Linked DNA regions of Homo sapiens: regions 1, 2 and 4 are each linked to region 3. Evidence: promoter capture Hi-C in 16 types of primary human blood cells and fetal thymus (Javierre and others, 2016). All regions are on one chromosome and are shown on one strand. Each heading gives the region's core, a stretch centred on a gene start or on the middle of the fragment in contact. The rest is flanking DNA. Distances are from core to core; before and after follow the strand shown. Region 1 overlaps TAOK3 (TAO kinase 3). Region 2 holds the start of MED13L (mediator complex subunit 13L). Region 3 holds the start of SLC15A4 (solute carrier family 15 member 4). Region 4 holds the start of ANKRD13A (ankyrin repeat domain 13A).

Evidence for each region. The method cuts DNA at HindIII sites, captures the fragments that hold promoters and counts their contacts. A CHiCAGO score of 5 or more calls a contact.
Region 1: a contact is called between a fragment that was not itself captured here and the fragment with the promoter of SLC15A4 in region 3, in 1 of 17 cell types (M0 macrophages). The highest score is 9.1, in M0 macrophages.
Region 2: a contact is called between the fragment with the promoter of MED13L here and the fragment with the promoter of SLC15A4 in region 3, in 1 of 17 cell types (neutrophils). The highest score is 10.0, in neutrophils.
Region 4: a contact is called between the fragment with the promoter of ANKRD13A here and the fragment with the promoter of SLC15A4 in region 3, in 1 of 17 cell types (neutrophils). The highest score is 7.8, in neutrophils.

Annotation. Positions count from the first base shown.
Region 1 is chr12:118,347,923-118,350,622 of GRCh38, reverse strand. The region is part of intron 1 of TAOK3 (TAO kinase 3); the gene reads left to right. Among named protein-coding and RNA genes, the nearest start is that of TAOK3, 24 kb to the left of the region's middle. The HindIII fragment of the contact is 4,674 bases long and covers 1-2,700 here.
Region 2 is chr12:116,276,418-116,279,117 of GRCh38, reverse strand. It overlaps MED13L (mediator complex subunit 13L), which reads left to right and starts at 1,425. Exons shown (of 31, transcript NM_015335.5): 1 at 1,425-2,058. The coding sequence starts at 1,987. RefSeq lists silencers at 1,017-1,076, 1,127-1,596. The HindIII fragment of the contact is 4,130 bases long and covers 1-2,700 here.
Region 3 is chr12:128,822,674-128,825,373 of GRCh38, reverse strand. SLC15A4 (solute carrier family 15 member 4) reads left to right here and starts at 1,416. Exons shown (of 8, transcript NM_145648.4): 1 at 1,416-1,976. The coding sequence starts at 1,431. LOC124903083 (a long non-coding RNA gene) reads right to left here and starts at 1,430. Exons shown (of 2, transcript XR_007063602.1): 1 at 1-1,430. RefSeq lists an enhancer at 1,506-1,665. The HindIII fragment of the contact is 5,029 bases long and covers 270-2,700 here.
Region 4 is chr12:109,998,030-110,000,729 of GRCh38, reverse strand. ANKRD13A (ankyrin repeat domain 13A) reads right to left here and starts at 1,300. Exons shown (of 15, transcript NM_033121.2): 1 at 946-1,300. The coding sequence starts at 1,041. It also overlaps a transcript of GIT2 not described here. RefSeq lists silencers at 1,087-1,176, 1,187-1,306 and an enhancer at 1,387-1,576. The HindIII fragment of the contact is 22,332 bases long and covers 1-2,700 here.

The DNA of each region.
Region 1 (2,700 bases), core at 128-2,627, about 10 Mb after region 3:
CCTCCCAAAGTGCTGGGATTACAGGCGTGAGTCACCATGCCTGGCCTCAAATTTGTCTTGTAGCTGAAGACCCGTCATTTAAACTTGTTACTCCATAGGATGGACAACAACAATAACAATTGCTGAATGAGTGCTTGTTAGGTGCTAGGTATTACAATACATGCTTTATATAATGAGTATCTCAACGAACCTCTATAATGGATATTTGTGTAGATTCACATACATATTCTTACATAGACTTTACAGGGGTGTATACTGATGTTCAGAGAGGTTAGGTGGTTTGTTCAAGATCTGTGGCAGAACCTGGACTTAAACTCAGTTCTATGCCTGTGTTTATAACTGTTGGGCCATGTACCCCTCATTGTGAAGATTGGAATTAAATAACTCTGTACTGTTCTATTAGTGCCTACAGGATAAGTGCTACGTGGCCCCAAGATGTCATTCATATATGACAATACAAAAGCTGGTTAGATAACATGGCAACAATAAAAAGTTGTGGACTATTCAGTGAAGTTATGGGCTATTCAATACAGTTTAGGATTTTTAAAAAATCATTTTAGGCATGCAAAATAACTATCAGATTTTATTCATTTGAAATAATAATTTTATGTTATATTGTGAGTCTCACAGTGACTTTGTAAGGCATTATATCCTCACTTTGTAGATGAGGTTATGAAGGCTTAGAGAAGTTCAGCTGCATCCTAAAGACGCCACAGTTAAGTAAGAGAGTTAAGTGACTTGGCTGAAACCTAGATTTGCTGATTGAAAGGTCAGAGCTCTTTTCCTTTATACCACAAATTGAAGCTGTCATTTGGGGCATGAAACTAATAACTGTTTTTTGTGTTTTTTTTAATTTAGATAAAATTTTATGATATAAAACTTACCTTTTTAAATTATGAAATTCAGGTTTTTAGTATATTTGTGATGTTGTTACAATATCTAACCTCACCACTATCTAACTCTAGAACATTTTCATTACACCAAAAAGAATTTTGTACCTGTTAGCAGCCACTCTCAATTATCCCCAACCCCTGGTAAGCACTAATTTACTTTCTGTCTCTATGGATTTGCCTACTCTGGACATTTTGTATAACTGGAACAAGACAATATGTGTCTTTTTGTGTCTGACATCTTCACTTAGCATAATGTTTCAAGATTCATCCACATTGTAGCGTACATCAGTGATGATTCCTTTTTATGGCCAAATAATATTTCATTATATCTGTGTGCCACATTCTGATTATTCAAGAGTTGATGGATATTTTGGCTGCTTCTACTTTTTGGATATTAATAATGTTTCTGTGACAGTAAATATACAAGTTTTTAAATGAACATATTTTTCCATTCTCTTGGGTATATACCTAGAGTGGAATTGCTCATAATTACTTTTTGTAAAATAATTAAAATGAAAATGCTTTGAAATGATTTGAATCAGCCAGCGCGGTGGCTCATGCCTGTAATCCCAGCACTTTGGGAGGCCAAGGTGGGCGGTCACCTGAGGTCAGGAGTTTGAGACCAGCCTGGGCAACATGGTGAAACCCCAACTCTACTAAAAATACAAAAATTAGCTGGGTGTGGTGGTGAGCACCTGTAATCCCAGCTACTCAAGAGCCTGAGGCAAGAGAATTGCTTGAACCGCCTGGGAGGCAGAGGTTGCAGTGGGCCAAGAACGCGCCACTGCACTCCAGCCTGGGCAACAAGAGTGAGACCCGGGCAACAAGAGTGAGACCCGGGCAACAAGAGTGAGACCCGTTCTCAAAAAAAAAAAAAAAAAAAAGAAATTATTTTTTTTCTCCCCCCTCACAAAAACACACATAATATTGTGTATTTAGCTAATTCTTATCCCATATCTTTTCTTCAGAAATAAGGCAGAGGCTGGGCGCAGTGGCTCACGCCTGTAATCCCATCACTTTGGGAGGCTGAGACGGGTGGATCAAGAGGTCAGGAGATCGAGACCATTCTGGCTAACATGGTGAAACCCTGTCTCTACTAAAAATACAAAAAATTAGCCAGGCGTGGTGGCGGGCACCTGTAGTCCGAGCTACTCGGGTAGTTGAGGCAGGAGAATGGCGTGAGCCCGGGAGGCAGAGCTTGCAGTGAGCCAAGATTGTGCCACTGCACTCCAGCCTGGGTGACAGAGCGAGACTCCGTCTCAAAAAAAAAAAAAAGAAAGAAAGAAAGAAATAAGGCAGAAGCAGACTTAGACTTTAGCTCAGAGGCTGGACAAGTAGTCTTTAATTCCAGATGAATAGTCTGTGTTTAACACTGCCTCCTCCATTGAAGGCACTATGGAAAGCGAATAAGAATCCTGATGCAAGTCATATTCAATTAATGGAATTAAGAAAGGTCCATGTCCTTTAAAGGCAAAATAGAATGACATCAAGGTCAGCAAGAAGCTGTCAGGTACTTTCTATACATGAAGAAGGAAGAGATTACTTCCGTACTAGGGAGATGGGGTAACATGGAGATGGAGTTTGAACTGAGTCTTGAATTGTGGATACCTTTTCAGCAGGCGTGGTGGACATAATCAATGTATTTTTTGGCCTACAGACATAGTGAACAAAATGTAGGATATTCAGGGATAGTGGCAAATCAAAAGCCTTAGAGCCACATAACAGGAGGTTTGAACTTTGAACAGTAGATAGTGAGGAACCATTTAAGATATTTGAATAGAAAAGACTGATGCAATCAGAGCCTTTG
Region 2 (2,700 bases), core at 176-2,675, about 13 Mb after region 3:
AGTTCACGTGTCTTAAGACTTCTCTTATTATACACTCTCATCTCTTCCCTGCTTTCTACTCTTCCTTTTTTTTTTTTTTTTTTTTTTTGAGACAGGGCCTCTCTCTGTCACTCAGGCTGGAGTACGGTGATGCGACCTCGGCTCACTGGGCTCACTGCAGCCTCTGCCTCCAGGGCTCAAGTTATCCTCCCACCTCAGCCTTTCGAGTAGCTAGGGCTACAGGCACATGCCACACTACGCCTGGCTAATTTTTGTATTTTTGTATTTTATTTTTTTTGTCATGACGGGGGTTCTTGCTACATTGCTCAGGCTGGTCTTAAACCTCGGCTAGGATTACCGGCGTGAGCCACTGTGCCAGCCATCCACTCTTCCTCTTTTAGCTTAATCTACCTGAAACAGCTGATTGTTCCATGTTTGGAGGCGTATTAGTGAAGACATTGTTTTCTCCTCCCCCTTTTCGGGGATCCATTTCTTGAGGACTGGGAGAGCTTCTCTTCATAGCAGCACTCCTCCGGACTCCCAGGCCATATACACTCAGGAAATGTTGGTTATCCAATGAATGACGCCAGGAAGAAGGGTCTGCTCCCAACACGGCCTTAGCACAGTGCCTGGAAGTTATAACAGATTCTGGCACACAGCAGGAGCTCAGGAAACATTTATGTAATGAATGAATGAATGAATGAATGAGTGCACACAGTAACTAGGAGTAAGGGCTCAATAAACATTTCTGTATTAAACGCACAGTGTCTGGAACACAGTAAGCGCTCCGTCTATGGCAGCCGTGAATATCCCTGGGCGAAGCCTGTGAAACCTTGTCCAAGAGCTTGGCTTCACTGTGCGCGGGTTCGAATCTGGACTCCTCTTCCCAAGTGTGCGACCTCGGGCAAGTGATTTAATCCCTTTGTGCTTTAGTTTTCTCCTCTGCAAAAGGCGGACGGCGGCGCGAGCCTCTGAGGACACATTCCCCAGGGCACTCGGACCCGCTGCCTGGCCCACATCGCGGCCGCCGCGCCACGCCAGCCGGCCTGGGCTGCGAGGGCACAGGCCGGGGGTCCCGCGCCCTCCTCCGCGGCCACCACGGGCGCGCCCGGGACCCACGGTCCCGCCCCGCCACGATCAGTGCACCGCGAGGGGGCGGGGCGGCCACGAGGGGCAGCCCACGGCAGCCACGGGCCGGCAGTCCGCCGCCCGCCGGGGAGCCCGGCCGCCCGCACTTCTTTCTCTCCCTCTCTGCCTCCCTCCCTCCCTCTTCCCGGCCGGAGGACCCGGCCGCGCTCAGCTCAGCAGCGCCTCCCGCGAGCCGCCGCCGCCGCCGCCACTCCGGACCCCTCCCCCGCCCGCCCCTCGCTCCCCCCGCGCGGCCGGCGCCCGTCACGTGACCAAGCGCCAGCCAATGGCGGGCCGAGCCGCGGTCGGCGGCCGCCATTGCTGTCAGAGCAAGCGAGCCCGGGGAGGGAGGAGAAGCGAGGCTGACTGGGGAGGAGGGGGGGGTGGGGGAGGAAGAGGAAGGAGGGGACGTCGCTCGGCTGCCGGGGTCGCCCGCTGGCTTCGTCCGCACCCCCCCCTTCGCGAGTTCGCGCTCCGCGGCGGCGGCGGCTCCGAGGCGGCGGCGGCGGCTCCGGGGCTCGCCTCCCCTCGCGCGCCGGCGGGGGCCGAGGGGGAGTCGGTGGCTGGAGATAAACAAGGCGGCGGCAGCGGCAGCAGCGGCGGCGGCGGCGGCTGAGGAGCAGGGAAGGCGGAGGCGGTGGCCGGCCCGCAGCGCCGGCCCGGGGCGCGCGCCCCCCCCGCCAGCCCGGGCCCGCTGCCCCCGGCGCGGCGTCGCCGCGGCGCCTCCCGCCTGCCCGCCGGCCCTCGCGCCCTCCCCCGGCGGCGGCGGCGGCCCGGCCGCCCCGCGCTCCCCGGCGAGGCGCCGCCGCCCGGCCCGGCCTCGCCTCGGACGCCTCGCTCCGACATGCCCCGCTCTGGCGGCCGGGCTCGCGGAGGATCATGACTGCGGCAGCGAACTGGGTGGCGAACGGGGCGAGCCTGGAGGATTGTCACTCCAACCTCTTTTCGCTGGTGAGTAGCCGGGCTGCGGGGAGGGGGCTGTGCCGGGGAAGGGGGGGGGTCCCCGACCTCCGCCGCCGACCAACTTTCTCCTCCCGCCGCCGGGACTTCGCCCCTCCCTCGCGTCTCCCCGCCGTTCGCCTCTCGCCGATTCTCCCCCTTTTGGATCGTCTCTCTCTCGCCTTGGATCCCATCCAGTGTTTATTTGGCTCTTTAAAAATCATTTGTGAGCGCGGCGCTCGGCGTGGAATTTGCATGTGGAAGTCTCGGAGCTGCGGATTCTGGGTCGCACTTCGAACGCCCACCCTCTGTTGCAATCGCACTCCCCTTCTCCTCCCCTTTCCCCCCTTTTTTTCCCCCCGTAAATGTGGAAGGCTTTGCCTTGTGCTGCCGCGCCTCCGATCGGCAACCTCTTCCCCCGTTGTTGGATCAGCTGCCTGCCCGCCCGCCTGCCTTTTGAATTTTTTTAAATTCCATAATGACACCTGCAATTTCGCCCTAAAATAGTTGATTGAATGCGATTGTGTCAGGAAAGGACTCTTGCACCCGAAGCTCCCGCGATTGTAAACATCGACAGCCGCCTGCCTCTCGGGGCTTACTATGCTGGAGAGCCGTAAAGCCATTGCACCGAGCCGACGGAAGGTGGAGAAAGCT
Region 3 (2,700 bases), core at 167-2,666:
TTTTTGTATTTTTAGTAGAGACGGGGTTTCACCATGTTGGCCAGGATGGTATCGATCTCTTGACCTCGTGATCCGTCCGCCTCGGCCTCCCAAAGTGCTGGGATTGTAGACGTGAGCCACCATCCCAGGCCGGGGTCTCAATTTCTGAAGCCATGCTGAGGGCCATTTTTGGGCGGCACTCTTTCACTCCACTATGTGCCAGGCGCTGTCCCAGAGGCAGGGGGCACAGTGAGGAACAAAACACAAGAGAATCCTGCCATCAGGAAGCTTACACCTGTTAACACATGCAGGTTGGGGAGATAAACGAATAAATTAAAAAATGTAACAGGTAATAAGGAGAAAAGAGTAACATGATGGAATGGGATACTCGGGCCTTGGACAGGCTAGTGAAAAAAATGTTTCTCTGAAGTCAACACTTCGGTGGAAGGTTGAAGGATGAGAAGCCAGCCATGCAACCATAGATGGTGTAGGGGCAGTCTCTGGGAAAGCCTGAAACAGGCTGGAGCTTGCCTTGTTCTAAGCCAGTGAGTCTCAATGGGGGCGTATTTGCCCCCAGGAGTCCTTCGGCAAAGTCTAGAAGACATTTTCGGTTGTTAACCTGAGGTGCTAGGGGGTGGAACTGGCCCCTAGTGGATAGCAGAGGCCAAAGCTGCTGCTGAACATCGTGCAACGCACAGGACAGTCCCGTCGCTCAAAGTGCCAACGATGCACGGGTTGAGAAACCGGGTCCTCTCCAGGACTGAAGCCCAGGGCAGGGAGCACGGGGGCAGCCTGAGCAAACCCGCCTGGAGAGCAGCCGCCGTCTCAGTGTGAGTTTTGGCTGCCTACTGGGCCCCACCGAAGCCCGAAGAGGGCCAGGCTCCGGCTTCTTTGTTTAAACTCCCTTAGTCCGACTGCCTGCAGTGGCTCATGCACGTAATTCCAACACTATGGGAGGCTGAGACGTGAGGAACGCTTGATGCCAGGAGTTCGAGACCAACCTGAGCAACAAAGCGAGACCCCATTTCAAAAAACTGTTTAAAAATTAGCCACAGGCAGCGGCGAGCGCCTGCGGTCCCAGCTACCCGGGAGGCTGAGGTGGGAGGGCCGCTTGATCCTGGGAAGCTGAGGCTGCAGTGAGGCGTAACCGCATGACTGCGCTCCAGCCTGGGCGAGAGAGGGAAACCCTGTCTCAAAAAGGCAAACAAAGGCTCTCGGCCGCCAAGCTGCGGAATCCCAAGCTCCCCAAGACACGCAGTGATCCAGAATACCGGCCACCTCCTCGCCTAGTGCCCGGGGCGGGGCCGGAAGTTCCGGCGAGTGGGGCGTTGAGCAGCGGCGAGCCCGCCCAATAGGGACATCTCAGGCCCGGCAGTCTCGCGAGAAGGGCGGCGGCCCTGGGTTCTGGGACAGGTGACCCGGCGGCGGGGCGAGGCAGCTGGCGGCGTCGCATGGAGGGCTCTGGGGGCGGTGCGGGCGAGCGGGCGCCGCTGCTGGGCGCGCGGCGGGCGGCGGCGGCCGCGGCGGCGGCTGGGGCGTTCGCGGGCCGGCGCGCGGCGTGCGGGGCCGTGCTGCTGACGGAGCTGCTGGAGCGCGCCGCTTTCTACGGCATCACGTCCAACCTGGTGCTATTCCTGAACGGGGCGCCGTTCTGCTGGGAGGGCGCGCAGGCCAGCGAGGCGCTGCTGCTCTTCATGGGCCTCACCTACCTGGGCTCGCCGTTCGGAGGCTGGCTGGCCGACGCGCGGCTGGGCCGGGCGCGCGCCATCCTGCTGAGCCTGGCGCTCTACCTGCTGGGCATGCTGGCCTTCCCGCTGCTGGCCGCGCCCGCCACGCGAGCCGCGCTCTGCGGTTCCGCGCGCCTGCTCAACTGCACGGCGCCTGGTCCCGACGCCGCCGCCCGCTGCTGCTCACCGGCCACCTTCGCGGGGCTGGTGCTGGTGGGCCTGGGCGTGGCCACCGTCAAGGCCAACATCACGCCCTTCGGCGCCGACCAGGTGAGCCGCGCCCCCGCGCGCTGTCCCTGTCCCTGTCCAGCCCCTGCCCAGCCCCAGCCTCTTCCCCTGCCCCAGTCCCTGCCTCTGACCGCGGAGGGAGCCCCTTGCCCCGGGGGGCTTCTGTCTAGTGCCGAGGAATCCCGCCAGCAGGTGGGCCAAGACTGGAGGTACCGGTGTGATGGGTGCTGGAAGGGGTTTGCCTGGGGCGGGGTGAGGTCTACACACACAGTGATGGCCACAGTGGCTTTAAAGAAAAGAGAGGCCGGGCGCGGTGGCTCACGCCTGTAATTCCAGCACTTTGGGAGGCCGAGGCGGGAGGATCTCTTGAGCCCAGGACTTTGAGACCAGGTTGGGCAACACAGTGAGACCTCATCTCTACCAAAATTTAAAAATTTGCCCTCCGTGGAGGCGCACACCTGTAGTCCTAGCAGAGAAAGGAGGATTCCTTGAGCCTACGAGTTTCGGAGGCTGCAGTGAGCTAGGGTCACACCAGTGCACTCTAGCTTGGGTAACAGAGTGAGACCCCACCTCAAAAAAATAAATAAATAAAATTTAAAAAATACGCTGAGCGCAGTGGCTCACGCCTGTAATCCCAACACTTTGGGAGGCCGAGGTGGGTGGATCACCTAAGGTCAGGAGTTCGAGACCAGCCTGACCAGCCTGGCTAAAAATACAAAAATTAGCCGAGCGTGGTGGCGGGCACCTGTTCTCTCAGCTAGTCGGG
Region 4 (2,700 bases), core at 51-2,550, about 19 Mb after region 3:
CTCAACCAAGACGCTGTCGGCTTTGGGGGCCGGAGAAGTCTTAGTTGCGGGGGGCTGTCTTGGCCATTGTAGGATGTTGAGCAGCATAACCGGCCTCTACCCACTACCAGAAGCACCCACTCCCCACTTTCAACAACCAAAAATGTCCCATACATTGCCAAATGTCCCCGGGGGGTCGTGGGTGCAAAATCACCTCCAACTGAGAGCACTACTGCTTTAAAGAGATAGCAATAATGAAAAGATTAAAGCATCAAAGCACTTTAGAACAGGAAGGGATTTTAAGGAGCCTGAGAACCCGTGATTCTCAAACTTTGCTAGGTATCAGCCTCCCTGGGGAGTTTGTTAAAAATGCGGCACCTGGACCTCACCCCAGACCTATCAATAGAGTCAAGTGTTGGGTTCTGCCCCAGCACCAACATCCTCATTCTACAGCTAAGTTAACGTCGGCCAGAGAGGGAAAATGCCTTGCCCAAGGTCACAGGGCGAGTTAGAACCTGGACTCCAAAACCAACCAAGCCCTTCCTTACAACAAGGAGAGTGTGCTATTCTTACGTCTTTGAGGCAGCAGAACCTAAAAATGGTTAAGACGGTGCATTCCGGAGCCAGCCGGCCCGAGTTAAAATCCCGACTTGGCATTTATCAGCGGGGCGGCCTCGCACAAGGCACGTAGCGTCTGAGGACCTGTTTCCTTCTCTGTCCAGTGGAAAAGTAACAGTACCTACCCACCAGCGTTATTGGAAAGGTGAAGAGAGAAGATATTTAAAAAGCCCGTCGCACGGTAAGCACTCGATACGTGTCCTATTATTAGGACTGTCCCACACCTGCAAAGTGGAAGGGGTCTGGGGATCCCGGGGACAGAGGGCTGGAAATGGGCTCAGGGAGGCGAAACGACCCCCGATTCCCCGAAGTCCCCACCGGGAGACGGACCCCCGCCCCGCCCCTCACCTGGCCCTGCAGCTCCTTCTCGAGCTGCCGGTAGTCGTTTTTCCAGACTAGGAGGTGCAGGGGGTAGTGGTCGCCCGCGTCGCAGGCCGAGGACATGGCGAGGAGGCCGTAACCTGGTCCTCGTCGCCCGCCCCAAGTCTCGGCCCCGGCGGGGTCTCCCGCGCCCGCCTGCCTGCCCTGAGGCCGGCGAGCAAGCGAGCGTAGGGCGTGTTACGCTGCCGGCCGGCTGAGCCGGTCGGGTGCGGGGCGCGCGGGAGGTCCGGGGTCGCCGGCCGGCTCAGGGACCAGGTCGGCCGCGCCCACCCCGCGCCCCGCGGCGTTCCCGCCCGCGCTGACAGCTCGCGGACAGACTTCTGCGGACCTAACTGCCCCAAACAGGGAAGTGCGGAGAGCGAACCACCGCATGCCGCGGCGGGGATAGGCGACCTTGGGCACCGGGTCCGGGGTCCGCGCCATTGCACCCACCTCCAGCTCACACCGAGAAACTCAGTGCAGCCCACAGAACAGAGCTGAGGCTCATTCTCTTGGCCAAAGATCTCCACGCGGAAAGTTCCGTCTACCTGTCCCCAGCTTCTTTCCCCCTGCTCCAGTAGCCCCATGTGGTTCGGTCCACAACTGGGCCTCTTCCATTGGCTCTGAAGTCAGGGGGTGACAACTGAGCCCCGGACCAAACCATTCCAGCTGCCGACACCCTTGCAGCCTTTTTGGAGCAGGACAGATGCTTCCACGACGGGTCAAAAGCCATTTTGGAAGTGGGCAACACCGGACAATTTTTGAAGGAGGAACGCTAAACCCTGGCGAAGTGGCTTCAAATACAGTATTTGCATAAAAGGGGATATTTCTACTTCATGATTTCTCAACCTCGGCACATATTGAACTGGGCAGTTTTTGTGTGGGGGTTGTCCGGTCCTTGTAGGATGCTGAGCAGTTGCCCTGGTCTTTCTCCCCACTCAATGCCAGTAGCACTCCCCAAAACATGTCTCTCCAGATATTGCCAAATGTCGTCTCGGGGAGAAAAATCGTCCTCAGTTGAGAACCGCTTCTATTTGAACTCCGAACCGGGTTATGATTCAATAGCTAACTATGGTGGTGATTTAGTCCATGTATGAATGTCATTTTTAAGCTAGCTTTTTGGATTTGAGGTTATGGCTGAAAGGACTGATAAATAATATACATATTTGACCACAGTCTGCGAATATGAAGTTTATTCTTTGAGTTTCAGGCACTATGCCTCCTTGACTCAATGAAGAACCAAATCAACTTACAGCTAGCTACTCATGGGCTTGAACTTTCTGCTGCTGCTTCAGCTCAGCTGTCTACAACTAGACCACATAGCTGGATGAAGCTATTTAATGCATTGTGAAAACATTCCCTCTGCCCTCTGAGTGTATGCACATCCAGCTCTTCAGATGCCTGCAACAACAGCTGTTCAAGAATCCCAACCTAATCCATTCTCCACAGATGTGGAGCCCAGAAGATTTGTGAGTTGTTAAACCAAAACAGGATGCAGGAGCACCAGGATGGCACCCGGAGACTCTAACCATGGAATGCGTGGGAATTCTGTGATTATTTCTCCATCACACATTTATCACACTGTAGAGATGGACTCAAGACCAGTGCTTCTGAGGCCTTTTCCAGCACTTCTCATTCTTTCAGATGCCTTTTGCAACTTAACGTTCTCCTTCTTCTTCATCATGCCGTGTTTATTGAAAATCTCCCTATCTCATTAATCAGAAAACCCCATAATGACAGGAA